2 separate regions of the Homo sapiens genome follow, and region 2 is linked to region 1. Evidence: promoter capture Hi-C in 16 types of primary human blood cells and fetal thymus (Javierre and others, 2016). All regions are on one chromosome and are shown on one strand. The core of a region is centred on a gene start or on the middle of the fragment in contact, and the rest is flanking DNA. Distances in the headings are between cores, read along the strand shown. Region 1 holds the start of KIF13A (kinesin family member 13A). Region 2 overlaps KIF13A (kinesin family member 13A).

Region 1 (6,719 bases), core at 2,249-4,748:
GAAACAGAGAATTTTGAAATTATGTGGTTCATGAAATGGCAAAAGTATACACCAGCGTAATTTACCACGTTGTATTTTAACTACTTTTTCCTCTCTCTCCTCCTTCTCTCCAAGGTGAGTGACTCTGGTGTAGGTACTGGATCCACAAGTATCTTTGAATCCCCTATGCTGAGCATGGTACTGAAATGATCTGAACTTCATAAATGTCTCCTGGAGAGCAATGCAATGGTATTTTAAGAAACAAATCCATGTGTCTTAATGTTTCAGAATGGTGATCAGTATACATATCAACTACTAACCTGGACCTATGCAATGTATTACAATACTAGAATTTCAGCAACAAAACAAACATCTTTAACCTCAGAGATCCTCTGATCTTTTAGTCCTAGCTACACAGTCTTGGCTTTGGTTTTGTAAAATGGGGAAACAATGAAAGCTGACCCCATCTGTTTTTTTTTTTTTTCCCTGGACGTCAATGCATTCTCACTTGTTTTTACTGGTAAGACTGAAAACTTTCACCCACTAACCTTCAATTTCTATCCATGGCTAATTCATTGGTAATTTCTTGCAACTTTCAGAAAAACAGTAATTCTCAATTTGACACAGGTTTGCCAATATGCATTTAAAGACCTCTTACACTTCAAACCTTGGACTTGCAGATATGAAAAATAATAACATTCTCAGTATTCTACTCTTCACCTTTGCCCTGCCCTGAGCACTATCTAAAAACCAATGACAGAAATGAATTGCAAACATAGCATGAAGCACTGCTGCAATTAATCAACCCAGAGCCCAAGGGAGGAATTGTTTCTATTTTTAAATGCACTGTTACTTTAAGGGAAAAGTCTGTGGAGAAATATGAAACCAAGCTGCATAATGAAAATAAAAATGCATTTGGTGTCTTCATCTGTGCAAAGACAGTAATCCTAATGTACAAGGAGCACTGTTTTGTTGACTACTCAGTTTGTCTGTAAATGAAATGACCGGTACTCAAGACAGAATCCCACAGAAAGCTCATCTGCTATTCAAAGAATTAGATCCGTCAGAAGGACAAAACACGAGAGTACCCATATTTCAATGCTATTTTTATAACTCCAGATAAGGGACTATCGTAAGTAAGCAGATGAATAGATCCCAAAATCACCCTTCAAATCTTTACCTAAAAGATCCTGATTAGTAACTAACGTGGTTCAGCCCGAAAAATGATCAACTGATTACTTAGCATTTGGAACCAACTGTCCACAGTTATAGATTGTACCAAATCCCACAAAATCAAATCTGTTTCTCTTCACAAATGACAACACTTCATGTCATTAAACAGTAGCTAACAGTCGCACTGCTTATGGTTAAGAGTGACAAGGAGCAGGTGCCAAGCCAGCAAGGAAAACAAGTAACGGCTACACAACAGGAGCTAAAAAGTATTCTACCTGTTCCCCCAGACTGCTTTCAAGAATCTGACCCAACAGAATTTTTTCCCGAAACAATATGCAGTTTGCGGGGGGGTGGGGGGAGGGGACATTCGTTGGTGATATGGGCATCTAATTTAATCTGTAAATATTTAATGTACTCAATGAGTTTACTTACTATCACCATGAAATATGCTATACTATCTACACTGCTATAAATGCATCTAAAAATACATCCATTACTAGACAACATTCAGTACAATGTACAATAAACACTACATTCAGTGTTAAACACAACATTTTACATATAGCTTAGCTATTTAATATCACCACCAGAATCTGCTAAAGGTAGCAGAATGTTTGCAAACTGGATAAAAACTGCTATGCTCAACACGAAAAGCAAAGAATCCCCAATCTTATCGCCTCATGATTTCTTTCCCCAAATTTGGCAAAACTGAGCTTGAACACCACACATTATAGAATGGAGGCATTGCTTCTCTAAGCAATAATGTCACAAACCCTGCTTCAGAGTCTCTCTTCAGTGAAAATCTCTGAAGAAGGAAATTCACTAAATTGTATTCCATCGATCAACAGGTGATTCGTGGAAACACAAACTCATATTCATTTCCAATGAAAATTAATATTGTAAACTCTCCCGTTTTTTCACATATATATATTTACAAGCTACTGCATTATTATATTGAATGAATTCCAACCGATTTCTTCTCAGAGGCTTACTAGAAAAATGCCAAATATTCAAATTATTTTGGGGCGTTAACCCATACTGTTGCATGGAACAGAACGGAATTAATAAGGATCCAACAGTTACCACTTTTCAAATGCAAATATGTTGCCATCTAGTAAATACAGCCCCTTTTTAAACATCCCTCAGTGTCTATACAGTTCAGGGCCCTACTTTTGTTTCTTTGAAAATCAAAATTCGCGCATTACATTGAGGCATTATCTCAACTCAGCAACAACAACTAAAATAGATACTAACTAGTCCAGCCTGAGTCTACATCGTACAAGACTTTTGCTTTATTTTTTCCTCCCATTTTAGACACACTGTCCCTAAACAATTCTGCCAAAGGAAACAAACCCTGCAGTGATGAAAAGAATCACGGACACTGGGTTCCACGAACAATAAGGTCGTGGGCTGGTCACCTGCCCGCCTCGGGCCTCAGTTTTCCTGTCTGTAAAATGTGGCCGCTGGACGAATCACCTATGGGGTCCCATCCGGCCCTCTCCCTCCCGGGTGCCTCGCAGCCCGCCCGGGCTCAGCTGACTGGTGCTGTGGCCAGGGTGCCCTGCCTGCCGCCGCTCTAGATGGAGGAGAAGGGGGGCGAGGGAGGAGAGGAACTTGGACTTGCAACAGCTTCAAACAGGAGCCGGCGACAAACTTGAAGCCGTCCTCCTAACAATAGGAAAGAGCACTCCCATTTTCCTGGCTCAAACTTGCGGGACCCCGCGAGGCTGGATCCTCCCAGCCGCCCTCTCGGAACCCGCTTTACCTTTCTCCCTGTTTGGTGTTAGAAGGAGGAGGGTGCAGGACCGTTTGATTCCCTTCCATCTCCACCACGCACTTGGTGTTCAGTTCCAGTTCTGAAAGCAGAGAGAAAGGGACGTTGCAAAGTCCAGCATCCGCGCCTCCAGCCCGCCCGCCCGCCAGCCGCGCCGAGCGGGGCTCCGTCCCTGGAGGCGGCCGAGCCTGGAGACGGCGCCCCGGGCACCACGGCCAGCGCGGACGCCGCCTCCGCCCCGGCCCCCCGGCCCCGGCCGCGCTCTCGCCGTCCCGGCCCCGCAGTTTCTAAAGTTGCCCCCGCCCTCAGCCCGAGCAGAAATAAAAAAGAGCGGAAAGCTCCTCACCTCGTCGGTTCATGGGCCGGACCCGGACGGCAACTTTTACCTTGGTATCCGACATGTTGGCTGCGCTCGCCCGGCCGCTCGCCGCGCCCGCTCGGCCTTAGGCGGCCCCTCACGCGCGGCGCCGCCGCCGCTGCAGCCGCGCGCCCCTCGAGCGCGGCCGCCGCCGCTCCGCCGTGAGCTCCGAGAGGCAGCGCCGAGGCGCGCGGGCCATCCCGGGGGAGCGCGACGCGGGGCACGGCCGCGGCCCGGGGAGGGGCGGGCGCGCGGGGCGGGGCGCGGCGGCGGCGGCGGCGGCGGCGGGCGGGGAGGAGGCCTCGCCGGCGGGCCCAGGCGCAGCTCTAGCCGCGCCGCCCCAGCCGAGACCGCAGCGCCGCGGCCCCTCGCGGCTGCCCGGGGCCCCGCGCCGCCATGTTCCGCGCCCGTCACCCGCCGGGGCTCGGGAGAGGCCGGACACGGCCACGCGCGGCGCCCCCTGGAGCGGCGGGACGGCAGTGAGAGGAGCGGCGAGCAGCGCGGCGCTTAGGGGAGGCTGGAGTCCGGGGCGGGACGCATTGTTTCCCCAGGGGACCTCCCAGGCCAAGCCTGCACCGGCGCCCGCGGGGCCCCCCCCCGGACACCGCCGTGAGCTCGAGCCGCCTTCTGGGGCCGCTGCCACCCGGAGCCCCGGGACGGCAGCAAGGACCACGGCTCGCCGCGCTGGGTGCGCAGGCCTTCCCCTCCGAGTCCCGGCACGCCGCCCCCTCTGTCCCACACGGAGCCTGCAGCGGTATTTTAAGATCTCTGTGGTGAACCGAGACTAGAAATGAATCTGTGAATCCACCACCGAAACAGTGTATGTTTGTAAATAGTGCTCTCCCTTCCTTTCCCGGCCTCTCTTGTCTCGGGAGGGATGTCAAGTGGGCTGGGAGGGCCATTAACTCTTACATAAGAATTTAATAGCAATGGATTCTGTCATCCTGCCAAATGCAGACCTCGCTGCCAGGGCGGAACTGGGCGAATCCGATTTATTCTGTTTGGTTCAACAAGTGCTTAAGGGGCGCTCACCGAGTGCCAGGCATTTTGAAGCGTACAGAAGTCAAAAATCCAGAGTTTAGATCCAGGAATCTTTCGATTTTGCTTAAATCTAGAAATCCACTTATTGGAAGATGCATTGAGGTTTTACTGTGTGCAGGGTGCTGTTGAGGACACACAGAAACATGAATAGCATGATGCAGAGGCACACGCTAAGGTGGAAGAGAGGGCGTGGAGACTTATTATGCTAGACAGTGTACGGCAGGTGCTAGGAGAGGGGTCCGTCCGCCTCCAACCGAGGTGATGCTACGCTTGACCCTCGAACAACACGGGTTTGAACTGCACGAGTCCACTTACACGTGGCTTTTTTTCAACCAAAATCTGATTGAAAATACAGTATTCGTGCTCTGGCACAGTGCCTTACGCCTGTAATCCCAACACTTTGGGAGGCCGAGGCGGGAGGATCACTTGAGGCCAGGAGTTCGAGACCAGCCTGGGCAATGTAAAGAAACCCCATCTTGCCAAACATAAAAATTTAAAAAATAGCCGGGCATGGTGGCAGGTGCCTGTAGTCTTAGTTACTGGAGAGGCTGAGGTGGGAGGATCACTTGAGCCTGGAAGGTTGAGGCTGCAGTGAGCCATGTTCGCACCACTGCACTCCAGCCTAGGCAACAAAGCAAGACCCTGTCTCAAAAAAAAAAAGGGAGAAAAAAGAAAAGACAGTATTTGGCAGGTTCAAAACTGAGAGATCCAACTTTTCCTATTTGTGGGTTCTGCAGAGCTGACTGTGGGACTTGAGTATGCATGGTTTTGGATGTTCCTGGAACCAGTCCCCTGTGTACACTGAAGGACAAATACTTCAGCCCCACCTTATTGTAGAGCCAGCTATCTCAGTCTACCTCTGAAGGGCCTGTTGCATCTTTCCTCCTCTCCATTCCTGCTGCTGCAATCTCACTTTACCTGTCCATTCACTTGTTCAACAAATGTGTTCTGAGCGCCCTACTATGTTACAAACACTGTTGTAGGCTTTAGGCTACAGGCTCTCAGCTGCTGCTCAGAAAGAGGTGAAATTTCCAGCCCTCTGAGGCTAAGAATCTAGGTCTGTGCTTACCTCTTCACTTTTGGGCTGCTGAGACATCCTGTTAACCCTCCTAGCTTTGCCTCCTCTAATCACTCCTAAATCCAGCTTCCAGACTGATTTTTCACAAAATTAAAATTTTATCCTTTAATCGTGCATGGTATTCTATTGTTCAAAAAACTCTCAGGCTGGGCACGGTGGCTCACGCCTGTAATCCCAGCACTTTGGGAGGCCGAGGCTGGCAGATCACCTGAGGTCGGGAGTCCGAGACCAGCCTGACCAACATGGAGAAACCCCGTCTCCACTAAAAATACAAAATTAGCCAGGCGTGATGGCACATGCCTGTAATCCCAGCTACTTGGGAGGCTGAGGCAGGAGAATCGCTTGAACCTGGGAGGCGGAGGTTGCGGTGAGCCAAGATCGCACCGTTGCACTACAGCCTGGGCAACAAGAGCCAAACTCCACCTCAAAAACAAGCAAACAAACAAAAAACCTCTCTGTTTAATATTACCTCCCACCATTCCTGAAATTCTTTATCCAGGACCTTTTCACAAGCAAGATACCATCCCTATGCTAAGCCATTGCTCTGGTAGTTTCTATCAGTGGGAATTGTAGAGGGTTGAATTTGTAACTCCCAAAAAGGTATGTACAAGCCATAACCTCCAGTACCTGTGAATGTGACCTTATTTGGAAACAGGGTCTTGGCAGAAATAAAATTAGGATGAGGCCATACTGGGTTAGGATGGTCCCTAAATCTAATGACTAGTGTCTTTTTTTTTTTTTTTTTTTTTGAGACAGAGTCTCGCTCTGTTGCCCAGGCTGGAGTGCAGTGGCACGATCTCAACTTACTGCAACCTCCACTTCCAGGTTCAAGCGATTCTCCTGCCTCAGCCTCCCAAGTAGCTGGGACTACAGGCATGTGCCGTCATGCCCAGCTAATGTTTGTATTTTTAGTAGAGATGGGGTTTTGCTGTGTTGCCCAGGCTGCTCTCGAACTTCTGACCTCAGGTGATCTGCCCACCTCGGCCTCCCAAAGTGTTGGGATTACAGGTGTGAGCCACCGCACCTGGCCTGACTAGTGTCTTTATTAGAGAAAGGAGAGGGGGATTTGGATACACAGGGAGGAAGACCATGTGAAGACAGAGGCAGAGATTGGAGTGATGCAGCCACAAGCCAAGGAACACCGAGGTTTGCCAGGAGCCACCAGAAGCTAGGAGGAGGAAAGGAAGCCTCCGGAGGAAACACGGCTCTGCTGACACCTTGATTTGGGACTTCTAGCCACCAGAACTCTGAGACACTAAATTTCTGTTGTCTTATGCCACCCATTTCATGGTCATTTGTTACAGTAGTCTTAAGAA
Region 2 (6,719 bases), core at 1,525-4,024, 110 kb before region 1:
TCTCACTCGGTCACCTAGGCTGTGGTGGGACCTCGGCTCACTGCAACCTCTGCCTCCTGGGCTCAAGGCATTCTCCCGCCTCAGCCTCCCAAGTAGCTGGGATTACAGGCGCCCACCACCACACCTGAATAAGTTTTGTATGTTTAGTAGAGACGGGGTTTTGCTATGTTATTCAAGCTGGTCTTGAACTCCTGACCTCAAGTGATCCGCCCACCTCGGCCTCCCAAAGTGCTGGGATTACAGATGTGAGCCACCATGCCCGGACGAAAAATAAATTTTTAAAAAGATGAAATATCTAAGAAAAAGGGGGCATAATCAGAAGCAAAAGAACCAAAAACTTCCTCCACCAAACCAAATGCTTCCCTCTGGAACTAAAGCAATTGTGACTGACTCCTAGGAAAGCCTATGGTCATAAATTATAAAACAGCAGTCATTTGTGTTGGATGGAATGAGGATAAAATACCACAAGGAGGTCAGGTGAACAATTTGAAGCTTAATAAAAATCTGTTCAAGGATTTTACAAGTAAGTGGCAGACCCAGATTCTGAAACCAAATCTTATTGACTTCAAAACTCATGTGGTATAATTGGAAAGAACAGGTGTGAATTACACAGGGAAAGTAAAACTCCAGAGGAATTAAAGAAAATAAACTCAATGGAAGAAGAGGCCAGAAGCCCAACTGTCAGGTGTAGAGGGAGAAAACTTACCAGCGTATTTTGTAGTGTTAGATTCATCCATGGACCAAAAGCAATAATCAAAGGCAAATACCTGAATGAAAGAACAAAATATTAAACTTAAAGATTAATTAACTTCTTATGAGTAAATCAGACTAAAATAAATCACAGGTGAAGATGAGAAGGATGGCCACTACTGTCTGACTGAAAAAAATCACTATAGGTTTGGTGCTTTTGTTAACCATAAAATTTCTTATTTTCCTCTTTTTTGGGGGACAGGGTCATCCAGGCTGGAGTGCAGTTGAACTATCACAGCTCACTGAAGCCTCAAACTCCTGGGCTCAAGGGATCCTCCTGCTTCAGCCTCCTGAGTAGCTAGGACCACCAGTGCATGCCACCATATCGAGCAATTAAAAAAAAAATTGTTGCAGACAGGAGGTCTTGCCCTATTGCTCAGGCTGGTCTCGAACTCCTGGCCTCAAGTAATCCTCTCTCTTCTGCCTCCCAAAATGTACTGGGATTATAGGTGTGAGCCATCGCGCCTGGCCCTATGATATTTCTTTTAGACTAAATATATGGTTAGCTTTCTGTATTAGAATAAGTTGTATATGAAAATTACTATTTATCTAGAATTCAAATAACCAGACATTTTAACGAGATATTTTTTTCCACAATACATCTGATGAGAAAACACAAAAAACAAAAACAATATCTTCTCTCGCAAGTCCATGGTTTCAGCAACCATGGAACCTTCCAGGTCGATCTCCCTCAGCTTCTCAATACTCAACTTTCATATAAAGCAGTTCCTTCTCCTAGCTTTCCATGATATCATCTGTAGCATACTGAAGTTCAAAACTCTCCATATTCCCATCCTGCACTCCTTTCCCCTTCTGTCTCTGCAGGCAATCTCCAGCAAAGCATGTTTTTGTTTTTGTTTTTGTTTTTTGGTGGTGGTGGGGGGGGTTCTTACTGTATTTTTAATATACAATTCCTCGAAAAGTAAAGATGTGAAGCAACTTTACATGTTTAGCAATTTTACATGTTTAGTATTTGGCATGTCTTTTACATGTAAAAGTATCTCTTCATATTTTTTAAATTTTAATTTTTTTTGAGTTGGAGTCTCGCTTTGTTGCCCAGGCTGGAGTGCAGTGGTGCGATCTCGGCTCACCGCAACCTCTGCCTCCCGGGCTCAAGTAATTCTCCTGCCTTCAGCCTCCTGGGTAGCTGGGACTACAGGTGCTCGCCACCATGCCTGGCTAATTTCATGTTTTATCTTTTTTTATTTTTCTATAAGTTATTGGGGTACAGGTGGTATTTGGTTACATGAGTTAGTTCTTTAGTGGTGATTTGTGAGATTTTGGTGCACCCATCACCTGAGCAGTGTACACTGCATCATATTTGTAGTCTTTTATCCCTCGCCCCTCTCCCACTCTTCCCCTCAAATCCCCAAACTCCCCTGTATCATTCTTATGCCTTTCTGTCCTCATAGCTTAGCTCCCACATATCAGTGAGGACATACAACGTTTGGTTTTCCATTCCTGAATTACTTCATTTAGAACAATAGTCTCCAATCTCATGCAGGTCGCTGCAAATGCCGTTAATTCATTCCTTTTTATGGCTAAGTAGTATTCCACCACACACACACACACGCACACGCACGCACACACACACACACACACACAGCATGGTTCCTTTATCCACTTGTTGACTGATGGACATTTGGGTTGGTTCCACGATTTTGCGATTGTGAACTGTGCCACTATAAACATGCATGTGCAAGTATCTTTTTCGTATAATGACTTATTTTCCTCTGGATAGATACCCAGGAGTGGGATTGTTGGATCAGATGGTAGTTCTACTTTTAGTTCTTTAAGGAATCTCCACACTGTTTTCCATAGTGGTTGTACTAGTTTACATTTCCACTAGCAATGTAAAAGTGTTCCCTGTTGACCGCATCCACACCAACATCTACTGGTATGAAATCATTAATTCACTTTTACATGAATTAACTTTCTGTATAGCTACTGAATGCCTACTATATACCGGGAATGGCTGGTGCTTCTTGGTGCTTCCCCTGTAAGGACTCCCATCAAACTGCTGTTTTTTCTTTTCCTTTTTTTTTTTTTTTTGAGACAGAGTCTCACTCTGTCACCCAGGCTGCAGTGCAGTGGCATGATCTCAGCTCACTGCAGCCTCTGCCTCCTGGGTTCAAGCAATTCTCCTGCCTCAGCCTCCCAAGTAGCTGGGACTACAGGCACGCACCACTATGCCCAGCTAATTTTTGTATTTTTAGTAGAGACGAGGTCTCACCATGTTGGCCAGGGTGGACTCAAACTCCTGACCTCAAATGATCTGCCTGCCTCAGCCTCCCAAAGTGCTGAGATTACAGGCGTGAGCCACCATGCCTGGCCCTAACTGCTGTTTTTCATGCCCATTACCACCACTTGTGTTCCAGCTGTTATTATCAAATGTGTAGAGCAATGTTCCCCAAAGTGTGTTCTAAGGAACCAGAGTTTCATGAGCTACTCCATGAAAAAAGACCAAATCATGTTGGAAGTGGTGCACGTTTTATCCTATTTGAGATTCTCAATGAAATTCTCAATATTAAAGGCTCTAAAAAGTCTTCCAGAGACTTTTCAGAAATGAAGTCCAGGAAAGAAGCCTATTTGATTGTTTAACATTTTATTTCCCCAATTCATTTTGGTGAGGAGACCCTTTTTGGACTAACACTTATTAACATGCCTTGGAACTACTACTTCTCAGCATATCCCTTAGCAAATGCAGCCCAGGTGACTCAGCAGCTACCTTCCTGGGCTCACTGCTATTGCCCTTTATCTCTTGCAGTCCAAACAGCAAATTACAAACCTCCCATGGGCAGGATCCTTTAATGCTTAATCACTTCCAAGAGATCTTAAGCACTGAGCATACAGAACCCATGCTCTTTGGCCTGGCATTTGAGACTAGCCACAATAGGCCCTCCCAGCCTATTAACCCCAAATTCCTCATGCTCCAGTGGAACTTGTCCTTACCTCAGAATTACTAAGTATAATTTCATCTCTGTCCTTGTTCTCTCCTTCATTTCCACCCTTCAAAATACGTCATACCCCTTAAGGCCCAGTTCGATACATTTTTCCTCCCAGAAGCATTCTTGGTTAAATCCAAAGGAATCATCTTTTCTTTCTCTGAAACCTTACAACACTGTTTAGTCCTTTTTTATGGCTCCTATCTCAATTATTTTATTTTTCATTTATCATGTATATGATCTGTGTGTGTGAGACAGCATTCATTCATTCATTCATTCATTCATTCATTCAGAGACAGGGTCTCCCTCTGTTGCCCAGACTGGAGTGCACTGGCACTATCATGGCTCACTGCAGCCTCAATCAGCTCAATTGATCCTACCTCCTCAGCCTCCTGAGTAGCTGGGACTACAGGCACATGCCACCATGCCCAACTAATTTTTGTGTTTTTTGTAGAGATGGGACTTCGCCATGTTGCCCAGACTGGTATCAAACTCTTGGGTTCAAGCAATCCTCCCACCTTGGCTTCCCAAAGTGCTGGGATTACAGGCATGAGCCACTGTGCCCGGCCTGTATATATGTTTCATCTCCACTTGTAGACTAAGTTCCCTGAAAGCAGGATCCATATCGAATTCATCTTTGAAGCCTGCAATGTTTATAGTAGTCACTTTATAATTACTTATTGATGTACTTAATGGCATTAAGATCTCGCAGGGAAACAGGCATTTTTTTACATTATAAAAGACTAGTAAGTTATACGCAATGTTCTCTCTCTCTTGCCAAAAAAAAAAAAAAAAAAAGACTAAGTTATGTTCTGAATAGTTTCAGCACTATATATACTTTATTTTAATGTTTTTAAAACTGATTTAGGTATATATGATGTACTCAACTTACATCATCAACCCGAGATCCAAATTCAATTTTGTTACTTAAACAAACATTCACTCTGGTTTTATAATAACCAAGTTTCAAATGAACAGTTATGAAACAATAGTTTCAGCCAAGAGAATGTGGAATATTTACTGCATTCAAGGGCTCTTCCAATGACTCTAGAGACCGACCACACAGGCGTAATCCAGTTAATCTTCCTGCCTCTGGGTAGGACTGAACTTCAACACTTCTAAGAGATGATGATCTATCTTGTTTTTAAACATCTCCAGAAAAGGAGATTCCACAAACTCCCTTTAATGGCATCTTATAATACTTAACTTTTATTTCCAGGACATTTCCCTTTTCTTTTGACCTAAGTCAACTCTCCTTACTTTAAACAGCCAATAGAGGCTATTTTCCTTTCTTTTCTTTTCTTTTTGTTTTTTTTGAAGTATCTTTACCGCTCTCCTTCTTATATCCCGGGCACTGTGCCCAAGCTTGATCCATGGTGAATTTCAGTGACATGCGTCATCCTAAATATTAAGAAAAAAAAAATCCTCCCACCAAGAACCTTTGGTTTTCAACCTCATTCTGTGCTGCTTTCAATAACTTCTGGTTTCTGCACTAAAAAAATTTGCAGTCAGTATTTACTGAGCATGACTACAAATCAGGCCTAGTAGTAGCCATCTAATTCATTAATTCACTTATCCATTCACAAATATTTATTGAGTACCTATTGTGTGCTAAGCGCTAGAATTATAGCAGTCAAAAAACATGCAAAGACTCGTGGAGCTCATGAGTATCCTATTACTTGCATTATCTGTAGTAATACTTATATTATTCATGTCCCTTATGAAGCTCCCAGTGAGGTGAAGGGAGAGAAGCAATATGCAAGCAACCAATAAACACATATGACGCCAGGAGGTAATCAGTGACACAAAAATGTAACAGCAAGGGGGCACTGGAAAAAACTGGAGCAGGTCCTATGAAAGCCTGTGGAAAAGCATGACAGCCAGATGGAATAGCAGGTGCAAAGGCACTGGGGCAGAGAGTGCCTGTGTGTTCAAGGACTGTGTTTTGAACACAGTTATTGTTATATATAGTGGAATAATCATTTATTCACTTCTTCAGTTATTGCTATATGTAGTGGAATAATAATTTATTTTCTACATGTTAATTTTTCATGCCTACCTCTAACTTTTTTTTTTTTTTTCATTTTTGTTTTCTTTATAGAGACAGGGTCATGTTGTGTTGCCAAGGCTGGTCTTAACTTCTGGGATCAAGCGATCCTCCTGTCTTGGCTTCCCAAAGTGTGGTATTACAGGCATGAGCCACTGCATCCAGGTCAAACTTAATTTAACAATTTGCTATTCTTCAAATAAAGTTAGAAAGCTAGACATTTACATTCATAGTAATGCTACTTAAAATAAAAGAGATCTACCCCAAATTTTGAGGGTCTACCTGTCAGTAAGAATTATTCCAAAGTCTGTGAAAACTTCTAACAATCAAAGAGTTAATCATTTAAAGTTGTTTTTGCCAATAAAAGGGCACGAGACCATTTTCATTTTAAGCATTTGCCCCCTAGAATTCAGACAAATATTAAAACCCTGCAGATGAAAAGAGTCCTAACAATACTGATAGATACAACTGTTCTTTGCTTGCCAAAGAGCAGCACCCTTTGAACTGCATTATGTCTTGAATTTCAAAATCTCTGATCACAGGCATTTTAGAATGGTGATACCTCAAACCAGTCTTGGAGTATAGGTTGTTATTTTATTAAACATTTACTAGGAAGAAAGCTGAAGTCCAGAAATCTACATGATTTCCCTAAAACTCAAAGCAAGTGAATAGAAAAATTTTTGTTGTATTCTTTTCTCAGCTGGAAGTGATCTCCCAATCCCCTTTCCCTCCTATGAAATTTTACAGCAGTTTGTAGCTCCCTTGACACTGATTTACATACGGTCCTGTTTTATGCCTTGGTTCTTCTGTGTGGGTCTTACTTCCAAATCTAAATGGTGAGCTCCATGGCAGCAGGAACTATGTTCCATGCACCCCATAGTGCCTGTTTCAGTATTTCATACAGGGCAGGCACTGTATGTAATATTTTTTCAATTAATAAACATATTACCAGGGGAAGGAGTTGGAACACAGACAAG

What was found. The method cuts DNA at HindIII sites, captures the fragments that hold promoters and counts their contacts. A CHiCAGO score of 5 or more calls a contact.
Region 2: a contact is called between a fragment that was not itself captured here and the fragment with the promoter of KIF13A in region 1, in 3 of 17 cell types (neutrophils, monocytes and megakaryocytes). The highest score is 8.8, in neutrophils.

The regions. Positions count from the first base shown.
Region 1 is chr6:17,984,137-17,990,855 of GRCh38, forward strand. It overlaps KIF13A (kinesin family member 13A), which reads right to left and starts at 3,499. Exons shown (of 39, transcript NM_022113.6): 1 at 3,273-3,499; 2 at 2,918-3,008. The coding sequence starts at 3,327. RefSeq lists silencers at 3,085-3,204, 3,575-4,074. The HindIII fragment of the contact is 11,131 bases long and covers 1-6,719 here.
Region 2 is chr6:17,872,671-17,879,389 of GRCh38, forward strand. It overlaps KIF13A (kinesin family member 13A), which reads right to left. Exons shown (of 39, transcript NM_022113.6): 4 at 707-767. Among named protein-coding and RNA genes, the nearest start is that of KIF13A, 110 kb to the right of the region's middle. The HindIII fragment of the contact is 4,568 bases long and covers 491-5,058 here.